2 separate regions of the Homo sapiens genome follow, and region 1 is linked to region 2. The links are contacts of gene promoters, found by promoter capture Hi-C in blood cells and fetal thymus (Javierre and others, 2016). All regions are on one chromosome and are shown on one strand. Each heading gives the region's core, a stretch centred on a gene start or on the middle of the fragment in contact. The rest is flanking DNA. Distances are from core to core; before and after follow the strand shown. Region 1 overlaps OLFM2 (olfactomedin 2). Region 2 holds the start of COL5A3 (collagen type V alpha 3 chain).

Region 1 (7,772 bases), core at 1,261-3,760, 84 kb before region 2:
AGGAGAATGGCGTGAACCCGGGAGGCGGAGCTTGCAGTGAGCCAAGATCACACCACTGCACTCCAGCCTGGGCGACAGAGCGAGACTCTGTCTCCAAAAAAAAAAAAAAAAAAAAAAAAAAATTGTTTTTGAAATGGAGGTCTCGCTCTGTCGCCCAGGCTGGTCTCGAACTCCTGGGCTGAAGCCATCCTTCCGCCTTGGCCACCCAAAGCACTGGGATTATGGGCGTGAGCCATTGCTCCCGGCCTGACAACATACTCAGTCACCCAACCCTGTTGAGGTCTAATAAGGAGACACTCTGCTTTCTTCCTCCAGCTCTGATACTACATGCAAGTGTCTTTTTTATGGTCCATTTAGTGCCAAGCTTTTCATATTTTTGTGCTGTTTGTTGGTGACTCTGCTATCTTCAGTGGCCCCCACGCACCGTGCTGAAGTGTAGTCTAGTGTTTCTAAGTCAAGAAGGCCGTGACGTGTGTCACGGAGAAAAGACGTGTTACAGAAGCTTCATTCAGGCATCAGATCTAGTGCTATTGGCCGGGAGTTCAATGTTAATGAATCAAAAAATAAATATATATGTGATATATATATATATATGCGTGTATATATATAGATATGATTGATATATATATATGATATTCTAAAACAGAAACACACATAAAACAAAGTTATGGCTGGGCGCCGTGGCTCATGCCTGTAATCCCAGCACTTTGGGAGGCTGAGGCAGGCAGATCGTTTGAGCCCAGGAGTTGGAGACCAGCCTGGGCAACATGGTGAAATCCTAGCTCTACAAAAAATTAGCCAGGCCTGGCGGTGCATAGTCCCAGCTACTCAGCGTGTTGGGAGGCTGAGGTGGGAGAATGGCTTGAGTCCGGAAGGCGGAGGCTGCAGTGAGCCTAGATCACACCACCGCACTCTAGCCTGGGGGACAGAGTGAGACCCTGTCTAAACAAAACAAAACAAAAAAAGTTATATATTATTCAGTTGACAAAAACGTTGTGGTCAGAGGCTTTTGACAAAAATAGCAAGTGTTGGTGAGGATGTGGAAAAATAGGAACCCTTTGTGGGAATGTAAAATAGCGCAGTCGCCGTAGAAAACATTATCGTAGTTCTTCAAAAACTTAAAACATAGTTACCATATGACCCAGCAATACTTTTTCTTTTTTGAGACAGGATCTTACCCTGTCACCCAGGCAATGGTACAATCATGGCGCACTGCAGCCTTGACCTCCTGGGCTCAAGTAATCCTCCCACCTCAGCCTCCCAAGTAGCTGGGACCACAGGCACAGCTAATTTTTGTATTTGTTGTAGAGACACGGTTTCACCATGTTGCTGAGGTTGGTCTCAAACTCCTGGGCTCAAGCAATCCACCCACCTCAGCCTCCCAATTGCTGGGATTACAGGTGTGAGCCACCGCGCCTGGCCCAGCAATGCCACTTCTGAATACGTACACAAAAGAATTGAACTCAGTGTCTCAAAAAGATATTGGTACACCCGTGATCATAGCAGTATTATTCAAAAAAGCCCAAAGGTGAAAACAACCAGGCCGGGCGCGGTGGCTCACACCTGTAATCCTAGCACTTTGGAAGGCTGAGGTGAGAGGATTGCTTCAGGCCAGGAGTTGAAGACCAGCTTGAGCAAGATGACAAGACCCCATCTCTACAGAAAAAATTTAAGAATTAGCCAGCCGTGGTGGCATGCACCTGTAGTCCCAGCTACTTGGGAGGCTGAGGTGGAAGGATCCCTGGAGCCCAGGAGATAGAGGTTGCAGCGAGCTGTGATGGTGCCACTGCACTCCAGCCTGAGTGATGGAGAGAGACCTCCTCTGTAACATTAAGACTTTTTTTTAAAAAAAAGCTGAAAACAACCCAGTGTCTATTTATTGATGAATGAATGGATAAACAAAATGTGGTATATCCATACATGGAATATGATTCAGCCTTTAAAAGGATGGAAATTCTAGGCCAGGCATGGTGGCTCACGCCTGTAATTCCAGCACTTTGGAAGGCTGAGGCGGGCGGATCACGAGGTCGGGAGATCGAGACCATCCTGGCTAACATGGTGAAACCCCATCTCTACTAAAAATACAAAAAATTAGCCGGGCGTGGTGGCGGCCGCCTGTAGTCCCAGCTATTCCGGAGGCTGAGATGGGAGAATCGCTTGAATCTGGGAGGCGGAGCTTGCAGTGAGCTGAGATCGCGCCACTGCACTCCAGCCTGGGACAGAGAGCGAGACTCCATCTCAAAAATAAATAAATAAATAAATAAATGACTAAAGTGATAAATTTTATATTATGTGTATTTTACCACAATTAAAAATTTTTAAAGTCTTCCATTTAAACATGCACAACCTCTTCTATGAGTCACTATTACCAGCTCACTAAATTCTAGGCCAAGTGCAGTGGCTCACGCCTGTAATCCCAGCAGTTTGGGAGGCTGAGGCAGGAAGATCTTATGAGCCCAGGAGTTCAAGACCGGCCTGGACAATATAGTGAGACCCTGTCACTACAAAAAATAAACAAAAAAAATTATGTGGGCATGGTGGCACACGCCTGTGGTCCCAGTGACTCAGGTGGCTGAGGTGGGAGGATTGCCTGAGCACAGGAGTTTGAGGCTGCAGTGAGCTGTGATCGCGTCACTGCACTCCAGCCTGGGCAACAGAGCAAGACTCTATCTCTAAAAATAAATAAATAAGGTCCAGCACGGTGGCTGACGCCTGTAATCCCAGCACTTTAGGAGGCCGAGGCAGGCAGATCACGAGGTCAGGAGTTTGAGACCAGCCTGGCCAACATGGTGAAATCCTGTCTCTACTAAAAATACAAAAATTAGCCAGGCGTGGTAGCACGCGCCTGTTAACCCAGTTCCTTGGGAGGCTGAGGTAGGAGAATTGCTTGAACCTGGGAGGGGAGGGTTGCAGTGAGCTGAGATCGCACCACTGCACTCCAGCCTGGGCGACAGAGCGAGGCTCTGTCTCGAAAAAAATATAAATAAATAAATGAATAAATAAATTCTAAAATCCTTAACCCAGCTTTCGAAGCCTTTACAGTCAGATCACAACCTTTTCAAGCTCACTTCCCTTCTCCTATCTGCACCCACCATAGGCATCAACCACACACTTACCCTAGTTCCCATTTCCAGAAACTTCCCCTCTTTTAAACATGGTTAGAATCATGTAAAATAAGGGTAAACCCACCAGGTCTTGTCAGCATGACCAATGACTTTCTTCTGTGTCCACCCTCCAGTCTTCACTCGCTCATCCTTCAAGGCCCATCTCAAATGCCACCTCCCCCAGGAAGCCCACTTGACTCTTGACATCTGGCACTTTGTACCATGTGTCGGCTGCATCTGTCTCCCAAATTTGGCAACTGACAGCCATTCAGAGCGGACTGTGTCACGTCCCTCCTGAGTGAGTGAGTGCCTCTATCAGTGTCTTTCTCATAGAAATTACTAGAGAAATTAGGAACAGAAACAATGTGGGCCGGGTGCAGTGACTCATGCCTGTAATCCCAGCACCTTGGGAGGCTGAGGCGGATCACTTGAGGTCAGGAGTTCGAGACCAGCCTGAACAATATTGTGAAACCCTGTCTCTACTAAAAATACAAAAATTAGCTGGGCCCTGTGGCTCATGCCTGTAATCCCAGCACCTTGGGAGGCTGAGGCAAGAGGATCACTTAAGGCCAAGAGTTCAAGACCAGCCTGGGCAACATAGTGAGACCCCCATCTCTACCAAAAAAAAGAAAAAGAAAGAGAAAAATTAGCTGGATGTAGTGGTACACACCTGTAGTCCTAACTATTTGAGAGGCTAAGGTAGGAGGATCACTTGGGCCAAGGAGGTTGAGGCTACAGTGGGCTGTGGTCACACCACTCCACTCTAGCCTGGTCAACAGAGCAAGACCCTGCGTCTTAAAAAAAAAAAAACAAAATAAAATTTAAAAAGAACCCGGCTCACCATGTGCTCATCATGTATTCTTCCTGGGATTCACCAGGACTCTCTTAGAGCCTAAAAAGTGAGAAGCTATTTGCCATTTCATTTGATGGCTGAACTGGCTTTGCCTTTTTGTTTCTTTCTTCTTGTGCAATGACACCTGTCTTCTCATCTATTAAGCAAGGCTAGTTACTAGCTGCCCAGGATTGTTGGAACTATGTGTAAAGTAAGAGTAAACTGGGACCGAGAGTCTACTGGGTCCCCAGGAGCAACAAGAACAACCTTTTCCAGGCTGGATGCAGTGGCTCATGCCTGTAATCCCAGCACTGAGGGAGGCCAAGGTGGGTGGATCACTTGAGGCCAGGAGTTCAAGACCAGCCTGGGCAACATGGCAAAACCCCGTCTCTATTAAAAATACAAAAACTAGCCAGGCATGGTGGTGCACGCCTGTAGTCCCAGCTACTTGGGTGGCTGAGGCATGAGAATTGCTTGAACCCAGGAGGCAGAGGTTGCAGTGAGATGAGATCGTGCCACTGCACTCCAGACTGGGCGACAGAGTGAGACTCTGTCTAAAAAAAAAAAAAAGAGAGAAAGAGAATAAGCTTTTGTATACAGTCTTCATGGAATCTACTCTCCCTACTCTCTGCTCTTTCCTGGTGACTTCTTGGTTTGTGGCTGCACTCTGGATGGATGAAGTTGCAAGACACACTGAGGTGGTGTGCACCTGTAATCCCAACTACTTGGGAGGCTGAGGCAGGAGAATTGCTTAAGCCCAGGAGTTCGAGGCCTGCCTGGGCACCATGGCAAGACCCCATCTCAAAAAGAAAAAAAGAGATAGAATGGGCTTCCACCTTGGCAGGGAGGACATGTCAATGTTCTCAGACAAGAGTTCCCTAGATATGGGAATAAAATGTTCCTGTCATGACAAGTTTTTTCCCAACACAGCCAGACTCAACTCCTCCAGAAGTTAAATCTACTCCACCCCTTGAAAGCACAAACTACCACCCAGTGCTTGTTGCATAGTACAACGCTTGAGATACAGAAGGCTCTCAATGAATGCTCTCTAAATGAATACATGGGCCGGGCGCGGTGGCTCACACCTGTAATCCCAGCACTTTGGGAGGCTGAGGCGGGTGGATCACCTGAGGTCAGGAGTTTGAGACCAGCCTGAACAACAATATAGAGAAACCCTGTCTCTACTAAAAATGTAAACATTAGGTGGGTGTGGTGGTGTGTGCCTGTAGTCCCAGCTACTTGGGAGGCTGAGGCGGGAGAAGAGCTTGAACTCGGGAGGTGGAGGTTGCAGTGAGCCGAGATTGCACCACTTCACGCCAGCCTGGGCGACAGAGTGAGACCCCGTCTCAAAATAAAATAAAATAAAATAAAATAAAATAAATGAATACATGCATGTAGGAACAAATGAAAACAGCACATTACTGTCTCTCAGGCACTAACACTGAATCCTGGGGCTACAAAGTCATTGCCCACACCAGCCACTGGGCTCATCAGAAACCCACACATACCAGGCCAGGCGTGGTGGCTCACGCCTGTAATCCCAGCATTTTGGGAGGCTGAGGCAGGCAGATCACCTGAGGTCAGGAGTTCGAGACCAACCTGACCAACATGGAGAACCCTCGTCTCTACTAAAAATACAAAATTAGCTGGATGTGGTGGTGCATGCCCGTAATCCCAGCTACTCGGGAGGTTGAGGCAGGAGAATCACTTGAACCCAGGAGGCAGAGGTTGCGGTGAGCCGAGATCGCGCCACTGACCTCCAGCCTGGGCAACAAGAGCGAAACTCCATCTCAAAAAAAAAAAGAAAGAAAGAAAGAAATCCACACATACCATATGGTTGGCCTACATGGATACAGTCACTGGTGTGATGATGATACAAGCATGTCCCTGTGCTCATGGTCCCTGAACATGCACACAGTCACCAAACATACACATACACGCATGACACCACAGACACATGCCTATGGGGCCAAAGTTAGAGTGAGGCAAGTTATGCAAGTGCAGAGGGGGAGCCCATATTTATTTAAAAATTTGTTTTTATTCATTATAGATTTTTCTTGCATCAATTTAGATTTTTCTTAAAATGTTCCATTAAAATATTATTTATCTTGGTTACTGGTTTTTATTTTTTTGGGGGGCATACCCTTAAATTTTGTACTATAGCTGAACTCTGTACCATGTACCTGTCACCCTAGCTACTCAGGAGGCTGAGGCAGAAGAATCACTTGAGCCCAGGAGTTGGAGGCTTCAGTGAGCTATGACTGCACCACTGCACTCCAGCATGGGTGACAGAACAAGACCCCGTCTTAGAAATAGGCCCGGCACCGTGGCTCACGCCTGTAATCCCAGCACTTTGGGAGGCCAAGGCGGGCAGATCATCTGAGGTCTGGAGTTCGAGACCAGAGTGGGCAACGTGGTGAAACCCTGTCTCTATTAAAAATACAAAAAAAAAAAAATTTAGCCGGCTGTGGTGCTGTGCGCCTATAATCCCAGCTACTCGAGAGGCTGAGCAGGAGAATCGCTTGAACCCGGGAGGCAGAGATTGCAGTGAGCCGAAATCGCACCACTGCACTCCAGTGTGGACGACACAGCAAGACTCTGTTTCAAATATCATCATCATCATCATCATCAACTTTTTAAAATGTTTGCACCCGCGGCGAGTATCTCACCTGTTTTACCCTGACCTGGGCACCCCCATCCCACATACGCACGCGCCCACGCACAGGTGCACAACCACACACATTCACCCACCAGTCACACAGACGCACACAGTCCCTGCACAAACCTCACTCGACCACTAGATGTCGCTCAAGCTCCATAATCTTAAATCCAGCCCCAAGGGGCTCTTTCCTACACTAACTCGGAGTCTTTAAATTTCCTTTTACTTCCCTCCACTGGGACATTTACATGCTCTAAAGGAGCCCCAGGAGAACATCGTCTTACCCCTAAACAACAGTGCCCTATCGGTGGAATGTCAGGCACAGGTAAAGAAGATGGGTTTTCTTTCTTTCTTTTTTGTGGAGACAGGGTCTCAGTCTGTCGCCCAAGCTGGAGTGCAGTAGTGCAATGATAGCTCACTGCAGCCTCAAACTCCTGGGCTCAAGTGATCTTCACACCTCAGCCTCCTGAGTAGAACTACAAGCCTGGCCAATTTTTTTTAAAGTTACTGCAGAGGCCGGGCACGGTGGCTCACGCCTGTAATCCCAGCAGTTTAGGAGGCCGAGGCAGACAAATCAAGATGTCAGGAGTTCGAGACCAGCCTGGCCAAAATGGTGAAACCCCATCTCTACTAAAAATACAAAAATTAGCTGGGTGTGGTGGCACGCCCCTGTAGTCCCAGCTACTCGGGAGGCTGAGGCACTAGAATCTCTTGAGCCCGGGAGGCAGAGGTTGCAGTGAGCTGAGATCATCACAATACTGTACTGTACTCCAGCATGGGTGACAGAACAAGACTCCATCTCAAAAATAAAAAAAAAAAAAGAAATAAAAAGAAAAAGTTATTGTAGAGATGGGATCTTGCTGTATTGCCCAGGCTGGTCTCAAATTCCTGGCCTCAAGAGACCCTCTGGCTTTGGTCTCCCAAAATGCTGGGATCATAGGTATCAGCCATCACACCTGGCCTGAAGAATGGATTTTCTTGGTGCCTTCCATCCAGGAGCGAGTGTTCCCCTGACACTCTCTTGATAAAAGAATCCTGTGGTTTGAGAAAGAAAGACACTCTGTGTGTGTGAGGGGGTCCATCCATCCATCCATTCATCCATTCAGCAGATATTTCTTGAGCACCTACTGTGTGTCAGGCTCTGCTCTAGACACTGGAGAAACAACAAAGCTAGCTG
Region 2 (7,355 bases), core at 107-2,606:
AGAAGTGTGCTGTGGTGTGTGTGTGTGTGTGTGTGTGTGTGTGTGTGTGTGTGTGTGTTGGGAGACTGAGCTCACCTTAGAAAGGGATTTCCAGGAGGACCTAGTCTAGGGTCTCTCAGATCAGGGAAGCCCCATCTCCAACACTTGAGAAGCTACGCCATCCCCTGACTCCCGAAGCGCCCCCCACTCTGAACCCTGAGGGGCGGGACAGGGCGCCCAGCCAGATGCGCGCAGCTGGGCGTGCGTCAGCGCTGACTCACCCATCCGGCGGCCCCCGGGACCCCTTGGGGGCTCCTGAGAAATTCCTCGGGAAAAACACCCAAGGCTCCAGCAGCTGGGGTGGGGAGGGGGGGAGCAACTTCCACTCCTGCCCCGCCCTGCGCCCCGCCCCGTCTCGCCCCTCACCGCGGCCCTCCCCGAAGCCCTGTCCATGGTGCTGATCGCGGCTCTGGGGACCGCGGGGTGGGGGAGGGGGCAACAGGGAGGGAGGGGAGGAGATGGGCGCTCGCCAATTTGGGGCAGAGGAGGAAAAGGGAGAATGAGGTGAAGCCATTTAAAGAGACGCAAAGGAAACTGTGGGTTCCCGAAGAGCACCCCCCAATACTTGTCCCCACCCACCTTCATCCTCATGGGCAATTATTTGCACCCAAAAATCATAACTACACCCCTCATAGCGGCACTCAGAGACACACAATCACACGCATAACCACTCACACGGTTACCCTCGAAAATCAGCACATAGACAAGAGCACAAGTGCATACTCACCTGTCGCAATACACACCGTCCCAGCACTGCCCTGTCACTCACAGTCACACTATCACCATCAACCTCCACACGCAAGCACATACGCAACTTCACTCCAAATGCACACACATGCTACACACACATACACACATGCACACACCTGCACATTGCATGCATTCCCACGCGCTCGCCAGAAAACGCACTCACACATCCCCACCCCCACCCCGAGCTGTCACACCCACAAATCACCCAGAGTCAGATACTCATGCGCCCACATCACACCGGGGCCGCACGCGGCGCCCACGCCCTTCCCCTCCACGCCCCTCCACCCCCCTCCACCCCTCGCTCTTTTAGAGCCTCTCTGAGTCGTGGACCCTGGGTCCCATCTCTTCCCTCCCGGCTCACCGGCCTGCGTCCCCGGCAGAAGCTGCAGCGCGGCCAGGAGCAGGCAGAGACCGGCCCGCGGCTGGCCCAGGTCCCGGCGGTTCCCCATCCCGGCGGGGCCCACGGGCAAGGCGGGGAACCAGTCGGGGCGGCTGCGGGGCGCGGCGACTTCTCGGGCTCGGTGCAGTCACTCGCGGCGGCCGCTCCTCTCAGGGTCCGCGGGAAACTGCCCGAGACCCCGCCCTGGCCTCGCCCTGCGCTCCAGCGCCTGGCCAGGCGGGGCTTTTTGGAGGGGGAGCGCTGACAGCTGGACTGGGAAGTTGGGAAACTTTGTGCTGAGGGCTGATTGGCTGGCTGGGGTGGAGCCCAGCGCCAGGAGCTGGGTTGTTCCTGCCCCACCCCACTGTGGAGGAGAAGGGTCACTCCCACCCAGCCCTAGAGTTCGAGGGTTCCAGTCTTACCCCAAACCTTTTCCGCCTAGCAGATCCCCTCAAAGGAGACCTTAACCTCATTCAAGACTTCAGCCTCCATCCAGGCCCTAGAATTAGGAGGAGGTGCAGCTTTATACCAAATCTTTTTTATTTTCTATTATTTTTACATTTTATTTTGGAGACAGGGTCTTGATCTGTCACCCAAGCTGGAGTGCAGTGGTGCAATCATAGCTCACTGCAGCCTCCAACTCCTGCGTTCAAGCCATCCACCTGCCTCAGCCTCCTGAGAAGCAGGTACCACAGGCACACACTGCCACACCCAGCTAATTTTAAAATATGTATATTTTGTAGAGACCGGGATCTTGCTATGCTGCCCAGGCCGGTCTTGAACTTCTGGTCTCAAGCGATCCTCCGGCCTTGCCCTCCCAAAGCGCTGGAGTTACAGGCATGAGCCACCGCCCCTGGCACCAAGTCCTTTCTGCCTCACTCAGGCCCCCAACTGGGGTCCCAACCTCACCCCGAACTCTCACTCACCTACCTGCTTTATCCTCAGTCCCTCAGCTGCACAATAGGAGGTACCAGCCTCAGCCCCAAAGCCTTTCCTTCAAGTCCCTAACGGGTCCTCATCCCACCTCAAATCTCACCCCAGATCCCAAAATGGGGTCCCCAGCCTTACTCCAAACCTTCATCTGTCCACTCAAATCCCTAAGTCACGTGTCCTGGTCCCAAATTCTCACCACAGATCCCAAAACACAGTTTTCACTTTCCCCAAATTCTTGATTCCTCAAATAAAGGGTCTCATCTCCATCCCTAACCCTCATCTCCCCCCGCCCCAACTCAGGTCTCCAGTGGATGCCCCGGCCTCAATCCCAAATCCCCACCAAATGAGGGAGTCTGAGCTGGGTGCGGTGGCTCATGCCTGTAATCCCAGCATTTTGAGAGGCTGGGGCGGGCAGATCGCTTGAGTCCAGGAGTTAGAGATCAGCTGGCCAACATGGCGAAACCCCATCTCTACTAAAAATACAAAAATTAGCCAGGCATTGTGACTGGCGCCTGTAGTCCCAGCTACTTGGGAGGCTGAGGTGGGAGGATCACTTGAACACGGGAGGTGGAGGTTGCAGTGAGCTGAGGTTGTGCCACTGCGATCCAGCCTGGACAACAGAGCAAGACTCTGTCTGTCTCAAAAAAAAAGGCCGGCGCGTTGGTGGGAGGTGGTGGGAATCTGTCCCTGTCGCAAAGCAACGCACAGCCACTGGGGAGGAAGGGGTGGATTCTTGCCATTCTTGGGATGAGGCAGAGGCCCCCCTCACCGTGCTGGGACCCCCACCTCCAGCATGAAGAGGCCCCCATGAGGTCAAATAGAGCTTTTATGCAATTGGACAAGCGCAGACACGCAGGATGTGAGGGTGTTTCCCCAGGGAGGGGAGGAACCAAGAGGCGTATTCTGAGCCCTGAACTGCTCCCCGAACCCTGCTTCCCCCACCTCCGCCCCAGGGGAAGAGGGAGACGCAAGCAGTGCCTCCCTCCCAGCCTCTGACTCCCCAGACAAAGAGTCTCTGTGTCCCTGAAGAGGAGGGGTTGGGGCCCCATCAAGCCTGAGGGGGAGATGGGGGCCCCCCAGGGTGGGAGGAGGAGAGGGTATCTCTGTAAGCTGTGCCTCCTCCCACCCCAGGGACATCTGAGGCTGAGACTTCTCCAACTAAAAGACTCTCACAAAATTCCTGCCCTGCCCTGCCTTGCTGGAAGTTCTTCCTATAGTCTAACTACATCTTCTGACAGTTCTACACCCCTTCCCTCTATGAAACACTTCTGGATCCACATTCTCTGTCTCCTTCTCTCACTCTCTCCCTTCAATCAGAGATTCTTCACCCAGAATACAGACACTAATTCCCCCCAACTTTCACAGAAACTCTCCCCAGCCCTAAATAATTTATACTCGGCCAGGCTCAGTGGCTCATGCTTGTAATCCCAACACTTTGGGAGGCTGAGGCGGCTGGACCACTTGAGGTCAGGAGTTCAAGACCAGCCTGGCCAACATGGCGAAACCTCATCTCTACTAAAAATACAAAAATTAGCTGGGTGTGGTGGCACACGCCTGTAATCCCAGCTACTCAGGAGGCTGAGGCAGGAGAATCATTTTACCCTGGAAAGCTGAGGTTGTAGTGAGCCGAAATTGCACCACTGCACTCCAGCCTGGGTGACAAGAGCAAGACTCTGTCTCAAAATAATAATAATAATTTACAGTCATAATAAAAATTATAAATTAAGAAAACAGTTACAAATGGCCAAGGCAGGAGGATCACTTGAGGCCAAGAGTTCGAGACCAATCTGGGCAACATAGCAAGATCCCATGTCTAAAAGAAAAAGAAATTTAAAAATTAGCTGGGCATGGTAGTGTGCGCCGGTAGCCCCAGCTACTCTGGAGGCTGAGATAGGAGGATCGCTTGAGGCTGTGGTGAGCTATGATGGTGCCACTGCACTCCAGCCTGAGTGACAGAGCAAGATGCTGTCTCTTAAAAACAAACAAACAAAAACCAGTGATGTCTATAGTAGGTGCGGAGAAGAAATGTTTGGCAGATGAAGAAAATGAGGTGCAGAGAGGATTTAAGAGATTCTCTCTTACTGCCTGTTCAGGGTCAGTCCAGAATTGAGGGTCTCCGGGGGAGGGCAGAGGCTTTGCCCTGCAGGGGATCTGTGGGAGGGGGTTAGGAGGGAGCAGATGAGCCCAGGATGAATGGTCAGAGTCAGGTGCTGCCCGGCGGAGGTCACGAGTCCAGGGAGGGGATCAACATGGCCGCTGCACCCCGGACTGTGTTGATCTCCGGCTGCTCATCAGGAATTGGTCTGGAACTTGCAGTGCAACTGGCCCATGACCCCAAGAAGCGCTACCAGGGTAAGAAGTGCAGGGTGGCACTAGGAGGCAGCCGGGTGGAAACGGCTTCCCCAGCACTGTCTCCCCTACCCATCCCTCCCAGCTGCACTTGTGGGCTTGGGGAGACCCAGGATTCCCTCCAGGAATCATCCCCTCATCCTAGAAATATTTCTTGAGCATCTTCTGGGTGCTCTGAATGCTGGCAACACAACTGGAGATGAAATAGACAAAAATCTCAGCCCTCAGGACGGGTGTCATGTGGGGAGGAGAGGGAGAATGGGTGATAAACAGATAAAAAGAAATTGTTGCTCTATCTGGTGGGAATAAGTGCTGAGACACAAAATAAAGCATGCTGAGAGTGGCAGGGGGTGGGTGGGGGTTATTTTTAGAAGGGTTTCACTAGGGCATTTCCTAGATTGGAATAATCACTACCCTGATGCTCACTCTTCCACGTCTCCCCAGATTATTGCTTTTACTGAGATAAGCTTCTTAAGTGCTCCTGACCTTGGGGGTTGAAGGGATGGCCTTCTAGTTCTAAGAACTTGCCCTTCTGCACCTCTAGAATAAATCCCTGGGACCTGCATCCTAACCAACCAGGAGAACCCCTGACCCAGAGGGAGCATGCTGGAGTCAAAGTGGGCAAAGGGTTGTTACTTACAAAGAGGCGACTGGGGGTGAGGGCATTGCCCCAGTTGGCAGGGCTGCTTCTCCCAGCCCTCTGCCCTCTGTTTTAGAGACGCACACAGCTTTGAGCATGACAGCCTGAATGCCAGTGTGCAGGGAATAACGTGTGTCCCTATGGGCGGGCAGATGGGTGTATGAAACTGCTGGAGGCTAATGTTTATGGAGCTTTTACAATGCACCAAGCTGCATTCTAAGTGCCCTGAATCCAGGAAGTCATTTAATCCTCACATCACACCCGTGAGGCAGGCACAATCATTCACCCCATTTTATTATTATTTTATTATTTATTTATTTTGAGTCAGAGTCTTGCTCTGTCACCCAGGCTGAGTGCAGTGGTGCATCTTGGCTCACTGCAGCCTCCACTTCCCACGTTCAAGTGATTTTCATGCCTTGACCTCCCGAGTTTCTGGGATTAAGGCATGCACCACCACACCCGGCTAAGTTTTTGTATTTTTAATAGACAAGGTTTCACCATGTTGGCCAGACCGGTCTCGAACTCCTGGTCTCAGGTGATCTGCCTGCCTGGGCCTCCCAAAGTGCTGGGATTACAGGCATGAGCCACCGTGCCTGGCCTGCCCTATTTTAGAAATGAGGAAACTAAGGTGCAGACTGTGAAAGGTCTTTGCTCAAGGTCTCCCAGCTGCAAAGTAGCAGAGCTGGGATTTGAACTCAGGCAGCCCATCCCTTGCACCCATGTTTCCCACTATATCACATGTAGATGCAAGTGACCCCATTCACGTGCCTGCTACCCACAAATCACACTGACCCGAAGACAAGAGGCAAATGCCCCCAGGAGTGTTCATGGGTGATTATGGGTGCACACATTGGGGGATATCAAACACGTATGCTGGTGCATGTGCAGACATAGTACATATGCTGAGGTCCTGCTTAAGAACATAAGCTTGAGGCTGGGCACAGTGGCTCATGCCTGTAATCTCAGCACTTTGGGAGGCCTAGGTGGACAGATCACCTGAGATCAGGAGTTTGAGACCAGCCTGGCCAACATGGTGAAACCCCGTCTCTACTAAAAATACAAAAAATTAGCCAGGCGTGGTGGTGGATGCCTGTAGTCCCAGCTATTCGGGAGGCTGAGGCAGAAGAATGGCGTGAACCTGTGGGGTGGAGCTTGCAGTGAGTCGAGATCATGCCACTGCACTCCAGCCTAAGCGACAGAGCATGACTCTGTCTCAATAAATAAATAAATAAATATACAAAAATTAGCCAGGCATGGTGGCAGTGCCTATAATCCCAGCTACTTGAGAGGCTAAGGCAGGAGAATTGCTTGAACCGGGAGACAGAGGTTGCAGTGAGCTGAGATTTCACCACTGTATTCCAGCCTGGGCACCAAGAGCGAGACTCCGTCTCAAAAAAAAAAAAAAGGGCATAAAAGCTTGGCCAGGTGCTGTGGCTCTCTGGCTCCTCACGCCTGTAATCCCAGCACTTTGGGAGGATGAGGTGGGCAGATCACCTGAGGTTCGAGACCAGGCTGACCAATATGGTGAAACCCCGTCTCTACTAAAAATACAAAAGATTAGCCAGGTGTGGTGGCAGGCACCTGTACCCCTGTAATCCCAGCTACTCGGGAGGCTGAGGCAGGGGAATTGCTTGAACCCAGGAGGTGGAGGTTGCAGTGAGCCGAGATTGCACCCCTGTACTCCAGACTGGGCAACAAACAAGAGTGAAACTTCGTCTCAAAAAAAAAATATATATATATATATGGCTATTCACTTCAGTGTTCATATATGCACATATGTTGGCTATAGTTGTGTATGCATTTTTTTCATGGCAATCTGTTTTATGTTTATATATTTTATTGTCTTACCTACTAGGCTATAAATTCCATGAAGGCAGAAACTTTATCTTATTTATTTATTTATTTATTTATTTATTTATTTATTTATTTTGAGACAGTCTCGCTCTGTTGCCAGGCTGGAGTGCAGTGGCGCTATCTCGGCTCACTGCAAGCTCCGCCTCCCGGGTTCACGCCATTCTCCTGCCTCAGCCTCCCAAGTAGCTGGGACTACAGGCGCCTGCCACCACGCCAGGCTAATTTTTTTTTTTTTTTGTATTTTTAGTAGAGACGGGGTTTCACCATGTTAGCCAGGATGGTCTCGATCTCCTGACCTCGTGATCTGCCCACCTCGGCCTCCCAAAGTGCTGGGATTACAGGCGTGAGCCACCGCGCCAGGCCGCCCGGCCTTATTTTTTATTTTTTGAGACAGGGTCTCACTCTCTCACC

The links. The method cuts DNA at HindIII sites, captures the fragments that hold promoters and counts their contacts. A CHiCAGO score of 5 or more calls a contact.
Region 1: a fragment that was not itself captured here is called in contact with the fragment with the promoter of COL5A3 in region 2 in 1 of 17 cell types (endothelial precursors); the score reaches 5.0 in endothelial precursors.

The regions. Positions count from the first base shown.
Region 1 is chr19:9,924,312-9,932,083 of GRCh38, forward strand. The region is part of intron 1 of OLFM2 (olfactomedin 2); the gene reads right to left. Among named protein-coding and RNA genes, the nearest start is that of OLFM2, 8.3 kb to the right of the region's middle. The HindIII fragment of the contact is 4,021 bases long and covers 501-4,521 here.
Region 2 is chr19:10,009,148-10,016,502 of GRCh38, forward strand. It overlaps COL5A3 (collagen type V alpha 3 chain), which reads right to left and starts at 1,357. Exons shown (of 67, transcript NM_015719.4): 1 at 1,151-1,357. The coding sequence starts at 1,238. RDH8 (retinol dehydrogenase 8) reads left to right here and starts at 4,336. Exons shown (of 6, transcript NM_015725.4): 1 at 4,336-4,453. The coding sequence starts at 4,351. RefSeq lists an enhancer at 4,957-5,126. The HindIII fragment of the contact is 8,603 bases long and covers 1-4,915 here.